Regions from separate parts of the Homo sapiens genome. Here region 1 is linked to region 2. The links are contacts of gene promoters, found by promoter capture Hi-C in human tissues and cell types (Jung and others, 2019). All regions are on one chromosome and are shown on one strand. The core of a region is centred on a gene start or on the middle of the fragment in contact, and the rest is flanking DNA. Distances in the headings are between cores, read along the strand shown. Region 1 holds the start of LRP1-AS (LRP1 antisense RNA). Region 2 holds the start of TAC3 (tachykinin precursor 3).

Evidence for each region. Contacts are between HindIII fragments. The study calls those that stand out against the background at their distance.
Region 1: a contact is called between a fragment that was not itself captured here and the fragment with the promoter of TAC3 in region 2, in 1 of the 25 tissues and cell types used here (pancreas).

Annotation. Positions count from the first base shown.
Region 1 is chr12:57,145,146-57,148,985 of GRCh38, forward strand. LRP1 (LDL receptor related protein 1) reads left to right here. Exons shown (of 89, transcript NM_002332.3): 6 at 82-345. LRP1-AS (LRP1 antisense RNA) reads right to left here and starts at 2,474. Exons shown (of 2, transcript NR_131938.2): 1 at 2,294-2,474. RefSeq lists an enhancer at 1,088-2,016. The HindIII fragment of the contact is 3,961 bases long and covers 231-3,840 here.
Region 2 is chr12:57,014,288-57,018,153 of GRCh38, forward strand. TAC3 (tachykinin precursor 3) reads right to left here and starts at 2,242. Exons shown (of 7, transcript NM_013251.4): 1 at 2,100-2,242; 2 at 1,397-1,515. The coding sequence starts at 1,510. The HindIII fragment of the contact is 18,684 bases long and covers 1,784-3,866 here.

The sequences.
Region 1 (3,840 bases), core at 961-3,460, 130 kb after region 2:
ATGCTGTTCCCTGGTGGGTGGTGGCCTGAGAGGTGGTCCTAGAGCCCTGGCTGCACGGACTCTTCTCTTCCCCATTCCCAGAGCCAGTAGACCGGCCCCCTGTGCTGTTGATAGCCAACTCCCAGAACATCTTGGCCACGTACCTGAGTGGGGCCCAGGTGTCTACCATCACACCTACGAGCACGCGGCAGACCACAGCCATGGACTTCAGCTATGCCAACGAGACCGTATGCTGGGTGCATGTTGGGGACAGTGCTGCTCAGACGCAGCTCAAGTGTGCCCGCATGCCTGGCCTAAAGGGCTTCGTGGATGAGCACACCATCAACATCTCCCTCAGTCTGCACCGTGAGTCACCTGCTCTCAGCTTGGAGGGCTGGGGAGGGTAGGGGAGACAGGGAAGGTGGACCCTATCTTGAACAGAGGCCGGGAGTTACACAGGATGGTCCTGTCTGGGGCAGGAGAAGCAGGAGGCTGGATACAATGGTGTGTGTTTGAGGCAGGGGCAGAGCCACCGGCACGCTCCCTCCCAGCTCTCTGAGCAAGTGTCTGGATGGCCCCTGCATTTCTGGCCAAGGGCTGAGGGGGCAGTGAATGGTCAATCTCCAGAGACCAGGGACTGTCCCTTCTCTGAGAGGGGAGTGTTGACTAGACTGCAGAGGGACTTTCCGGTGCAGTGGGAGCCAAGGCTAGGGAAAGAAGGAGCGGAAGCCTGAGGTGCCCTGTTAGGCTGCAGCTGAGGGTAAAGGAGCTGGGGCCCAGCTGCTCTGTCTCCATGGGCCATCGTTTCCCTCGGGGACCATTGCCAATGGACTCTCTGCTGCCATCGGGGGAGGGCAGTACTGAGGTTATTTCTCTGTGGCTTTGTGGCAGTGAATGAGGCTGGGAGAGGAGCGTGAGCCACATGAGATTTTAGAATATCCTGGATGCTTCCATTCAGGCTTCTCCCTAGGCTACACTTTTGCTATCCTAGTTGTGGAAGAAGGGGTGTCACAGAAAGGGGCACGAGCATAGCTGGGTGTAGACCCACTGCCGGGAACAGCCCTGCCCATCTCAGAGGCTGTTACACCAGCAACCTTAAAAGTCAACATCTGGCAGCATCACATTTCCAAAGAAATGCACCACAGGGCTGAGAGGAAGAATCTGGCCTGTGGTTGATCTGACCCCCTAAGGGAGATTAACTTGATCTGTAACTGTTTAGTAAACCAGAATTCCCATCTCTGCCTTGGTTTCCTAATCTGCATAATGGGTTTGAGCTTGTCTGTCTAGATCAGATTAACTGGAGTGAAAGCCAGTGGTAAAGGACAGCACACTTTGAAGTTGAGGATTGTGAACCTTGGGCCTCTCTAGAAGATCTTCAAGTTTCTTTATTTGGTTCTTGTGATGAAAAGAAAGATCCCAGGAGGTTACAAGGGATTCATTCTGGGAGAGAGAAAGGCCCCTCCCCGGGATGGTGGCGAGCAGGGGTTCCTCTGAGAGCCCTCACTCTCCGTGGCCTCAGCGTAAGGTTCACATTTCTGCCTTTGGCTCCTCCAGAGCATCCCTGATAGCGTCCTTGGGCTGCTGCTGTCCACAGCTCACCTGTGATCAGACATGTGTCCTCCTTGGGGTGCTGAGCTGGGGGCTGTCAAGCCTGGTTGGCTGAGCTCTTAACGAGTGGGCGACTCAGGGAACCCCATGGCTGATGGGGTGGGATTGGTGCTAGACCCTCTTGTGCAGCTGCCCTCCCCCTGTTCCTTGTCCACTGACCTACTCAACAGGCCTGTCTGGGCAGACAGCTTGTCAGTTTCCTCCCCAGCCCTGCATCTTGCCATACAGTGGGCTTCTGGGTAGGTGGCTATGGGGTGTCCTGGAGGTAACCTTCTCAACTTCTACTCTGGCCTCATCTCCTTATCTGACTTCCTCCCCAGGAGAAGCTGGTACCCCTCCCTTGGCAAACAGATTTGCCTTGCCTCCCAGTCTGCTAAACTCACTGGGCCTCTCAGGGGCAGAGTCCAGGAGGCTAGAAGAGTCCAAGGGGAAATGCTTGTGGGGTAAATGAGTGGGTTTCTCTCATCCCAGCTTCTGTCCCTTCCTCCCTGCCCTCCCCCTGCTCCACGTCCCTGCCGCCTGAATGTCTGGCTGTCACCCTGAGGATGGTTGTTTTGCTCTCTCCCACAAACTAATTATGGGTCCCAAACTGAGGACGTCAGTGTCTCTCCCCTAGCCCCTCCCCCAGTTTCTGGGTCATCCCCCTCCCCAGGAGATGCTGACTGGCCTGCCCTGGTGTGTAGGGTGGCTGGTCCCAGGCACTCACCTGCACAGTGGCTGCTGGCCTGTAATTAGCTCCCCAAGGAGGACGAAGAAGAAAGGCTGCAGCTTTCCCCTGCTTTCACTCTGCCCTCCAGGGCAGCCCTCCCTGCAAGCCTTCCATTCTGTGCTGTGACTGTGACCTCTGTTGGACCCCTGGGGCTGAGCCTCATGCAGCAGGGGTGCACACAGAGGGAGGAGTCTGACAATTGAGGGGTGTTCGAGCCAGCGAGGCCAGCCCGCTGGTGCAGGCAGAAGGGGGAGCCTGCCCCAGAGAAAACTCTGGAAGCAGAAATAGAATAGAAAGAAGGAAGGAGGCCAGGAAATGAGCCTGGTTCACATGTGTCCTGGGCCATGTGAGTCAGACCTGTTGTGGAGTCCTGAGAGCCCCCGAGGGCCCCCCTGAGGCCCTGCAGTGTGTGAACATTCCTCTTCAATGCCCCAGGGCTGCTGACCCTCCTGCCTCAGGCCCAGTGTTATCCCCCTGGATTGGGTGGGTCATCTCTTTTCCTCCCACCTGAGATTACCTCCCCCTCCCCTCTGCCGCTGGCCCAGTGGTTTGGGGAGGTCTATGAGGCTCGAATTCCAAGACCAGAGAACTCCATGGTGAGAGCCGGAAGAGAAGGCAAGACCCTTGGCCAGTACCAAGAGCAGCCCTGGCTTTCACTACTGCTTTCTCAAAGGGGCTATGCATTGATTTGATTTTAGATGGTACCTGGACAAGCTTTTTTTTTTTTTTTTTAACTGTTATAGTTACGTTTTTATTTGATATGCATTAGGAAACTCCTGTAACTAGCACATCAAATCTGTTACTTCAGCAATTGTTTAGCATGCAGCGAAATAAGAAAAGTAAGTTAATTGAAATAACTGGTAATAAACAGTAGCGCAAGCTGTACATAAGCATGGTAGACATTTTGAAAGTGATACACAAAAGACTAAAGTTCTGAAAATTGAGGCCCAGAGGGATCAACAGGCCTGATAGTCCCTTAGTCAGGAACCAGGCCTGCGCACTCTCACCCCCACCTCTGACCAGTCTCTCAGCTCCAGAGGCCTATGGAGCCTGTAACCCAGCTTTGTCCAGCCTCCTGCCAGGCTGCCCCTGGGCAGGCCTGGTGGTGCAGTCTACCGACCCCAGCCCAGCCCTGCATTTCCTAAGCTGAGCTCCTCTGATCTGTATTCCCTTCACCTTGGAGGATGCCACCACTGTAGAAAGAATGAGGCAGACTGCAAGATTGGGGTCCTGGGAACATGGGTGTGTATGGTGAGGGGAGGTTCTGAGGTTGTAAATAGAGGCCTTGAAGGAAATCGGGTTTGCTGAAGTCACTCAGGAGTTTGGACTGTGTGTGAAAGGATGGTCTGAAGGGGCTCTCAGAGGTCTCAGGGTTCCCCTCCCTGCACCATGCTGCATGGGGAAGAAGGAGGTGGCTGGGGAGCTCAGCAAAGGGCCCCTAGGCTGCAGGCAGCAAGGTTGCGAAATGGGTCCCAGGTCCAGCTGGCCAACTTCACTTTTCCCTTCCTCTCCCTTTCTTTTATTTATTTATTTTTTTAGTGTGT
Region 2 (3,866 bases), core at 992-3,491:
AGTTAATTGCAGCTGCAGAGAGACAATAACAATGATCATGGCTGGAGATTTTCATCTCAAATCTCAAGTCTCAGCAGCGCCTCTCTTTCCAGAACCCAGGCATCCTTCGGCTGTTGTGCACACACAGAAGTGCATTTACACAGAACACACCCCCACACATACCAACCCAGTTGCCTAGGCACACCTATGTACTACCCTCTTCCTGCCCCAATTTCCCTCATCCTCACAGACTCTCAAGGAGAAGGGGTAGGATGGCAATCCCTCTCATTCATTGACCAAGAGGGGCAGAGGGGACATCTCATTGGCCAAGGTCTTGAAACAAGTTTGTCTCAGAAGAACTCAGATACTCTAACTATCCTGGGCTGGAACTTTGTGGCTCCAAACGGTGTCCAGCCCATACTTGGCACTCCCCTGGGTGTTTTTTTTTTTAACGGTTCTGGCCTTTTGGATATGGCACAACTGCTGCCACCTGCAAGGCTGCCCTGGTGATAACTCCCTTGGCCCAGCATGTGGTGTTCAGGCAGCCACTTTTCCCAAATTGTTGAATACTCTGCCCACCTCCTATAATGAGATGCTGAACAGATTTGAGCTGAAGAGGCAGTTAAACTTCACACATTGAATTTGTAATAAGTCCCACCCGCAATCATCTTAAAAGCATTTGTACCGATGTAATTGCTGTCATTTCAAAACCTTGAAAAGACTTCCTCCCTATCCTCCCCCTGTACCCCTACCCTGACAATTCCTATTCTTTTTCGTAAAGGAACTGTGGAAATCGAGGCTCAATCTGGTTTTTTTGCTGTTGTTGTTTTCCTATCCTGACTAAGCAGAGGATAGAGGCGGGCAAGGGAGAAAAGAGAAGAAGGAAGGGGTTGGGATCTTAGAAGCACCTGAGGTTACTGGGGGTGGATGAGCAAAAGATAAGGGAATTTATTTGCATTTTGAAAATAAAACAATACACATAACTGATAGGTAAAATAGCACACAAATAACCATTTGGGAAAGAAATTCTGACTGTTTCATACCATCCAGGAAATAGAAGAGATCTGTCCCTTGCAAAGGGACCTGAGGTAGACTATAGAGAGCCTTAGACCACCCTAGCTCACCCCTCACAGTACCATCCAATCACCAAGTCTCCCATCAATCAACCCACCAAACAACATATTTGTAGGGCACCTTTTATGTACAAGGTGTCAAAGACATGCAGAGATACAGAGACACAAACACACCTGGAGACAGTGGGAACATGAAAGGACCAGAGAAACAAAGAAATCCAAAGGGAGGCAAAATGCCCTCTGACGGACAACCCCCCCACCCCAGTTTCCTCACTACAGCTGTCCAGACAGGCAGAGTCCCAAGTTCCCGTGATGTCCCCAGTACTCTGCCAGGGGAGACTTACCTTGCTGCGGCCCCCGCCAGGAACCACCTCCTCCTGTGGCTCCTTACAGACAGCCCCAAAGCTCTGAGCTAGGCTGAAGGCCAGGATGGCTGTGAATAGCAGCATGATCCTCATGGTGCCTGGGAGAGCAAAGGGACAGGACTCAGGTAAAGGAGAGAAGAGGAAGATACAGCATGGGTGAAGACACAAGAGACATTCATTACCAGCAGCTTGGCTTGACCCTGCTTCCCCAGCCCCCAACTCCACTGTCCAAGCCCTGGTCTGGAGAGAGGGTGGAAAGTATTTCTGAGAAGGGGGTACAGCCCTTGGGCTTAGTTTCCCTGCTACCCCATCAGATATCTCCCCAGGAGATGTGCAATGCTATAGTGGTGCCAGGAGGACTCTAGCTCCCAAGAAAGATGATAGATTTGTAGGACATGGACTGGTCTGTTTCCTCAGTCAGCTGGAGGAGGGATCCTGGATGCTATTTTCCAGTACTAGATAATCCCAAGACTTAGGCAAAAACTTTCTGGTATGAAAGAATGAGTCTGTAGCCACAGGCTCCAAACACCAACCAGCTCTCGGCCCTACAGGTGCTTTGTGCTCACCTTCCCAGTCCCCTGCTCCCCTATCAGAGGCTGCCATCTGCTTTATTCCCTCCTGACGCTGGCTCCTGTCCCCTGGTGCCAGCTCTGGTCCATCCAGCATTCTCCCACTTGCCTACCTGTGGAGCAGCTCTGTGCCGGGGGCTGGGTGGTCTGGCAGGATCAAGGAACTGGCTAGGACCGCTGCCTGCTCCCCTCACACACTGGTGCTGCCGGTGCTCCTGCAAAGAGAGAAACCGAGTGGAGGGGATCTAGGAAGGCTGCAGTCACTCAGTCCCAGCTCCCTGATAAAGGCTCTGGGAGGGTCTAGGGGAGCTGAGGGGAGGGGCTGAGAGTCACCAATCCCAGGGTGGCTGGAGGGGAGGCGGGGAGGCTGTAGGGGGGAGGAGGATGCAGACAGTAGCCACACACCCAGACACACACATACCCCACAGACCCAGCAGTGAGACCATTTCCTAACAGCACCCGAGCTGGCTGCTGTGTATGGTTTGTGTACAGTTTGACACTGCTGGGGCTTAGAGGACAATACTCCAAAATGAAGGCCTCAATAGCCGCCTCAGAAGCAGAAGTTTTTCTCTGACCCTCTCTTGTCCTCTTGTCACTCGGTTCCATTCTCCCCCAAGACCAGCTATAAAAACCAGAACCCCTTTGCCCCAAAGCCAGCCATAAAACCTAAAATTACTCTATGTAAAAACTGGCCAAAAAAATTATCTGACCGGCCGAGTGCAGTGGCTCACGCTTGTAATCCCAGCACTTTGGGAGGCCGAGGCGGGCGGATCACGAGGTCAAGAGATCGAGACCATCCTGGCCAACATGGTGAAACGCTGTCTCTACTAAAAATACAAAAATTAGCTGGTCATGGTGGCGCGTGCCTGTAATCCTAGCTACTCGGGAGGCTGAGCCGAGATTGCACCACTGCACTCCAGCCTGGTGGCAGAGCAAGACTCCATCTAAAAAAAAAAAAAAATTCAGAAAAGATGACACTCACCCCTTTTTTGGGGTCTCCTACTTTCGTTGTGGAGTTTCACGAGTCATGGGCAGATTCTTCTCAGGTCTAAAGCTCTGCTCTCTTCTACACTACATTACCTAATCTCTTTGGTTTTTGAGGATGCCAAAAATAAATTACTTTGTATTATTTAAAAAACTAGACATATAGCTAGTCATATATAATAACTAGATAAAAAATACAGTTTTAGAGATGACTTATGACAGTTATTCACAACAAAGTATTACTACTATACAGGGCTACTTATTTCTTCGTGCATTTAAATTTTTAAAAACATGGTCTGGGGCACCTAAAGACAATGAAAGCACTCACCATTGAGGATGAAACTCCCATTAAAAATAGGCTAAGCACGCCAGGCATGGTGGCTCACGCCTGTAATCCCAGCACTTTGGGAGGCCGAGGCGGGCGGATCACTTGGGGTCAGAAGTTCGAGACCAGCCTGGCCAACATGTTGAAACCCCATCTCTACTAAAAATACAAAAAATTAGCTGAGCATAGTGGCTGGTGCCTGTAATCTCAGCTACTTGGGAGGCTGAGGCAGGAGAATCGCTTGAACCCACGAGACAGAGATTGCATTGAGCCGAGATCACGCCATTGCACTCCAGCCTGGGCAACAGAGCAAGACTCCACCTCAAAAAAAAAAAAAAAAAAAAGACTAAGCACAGAGTGGGCTAATCGGCACTGGGCTGCCTGCCAGCCTTGGGGGAGCATCTTTACAGTGGGGCACTCGATAAAAATGCCACACATCTCGTCCCATGACATTTCCCTCTTTTGGGGGGCCTAGGATTCAATATAAAAATGAGATCCTTGATTAGGGGGGTTCTGTATTCTGCCTTCCAGCTATGCCTGCTTTACCCATTTAAATATGAGGCCCTAAAAC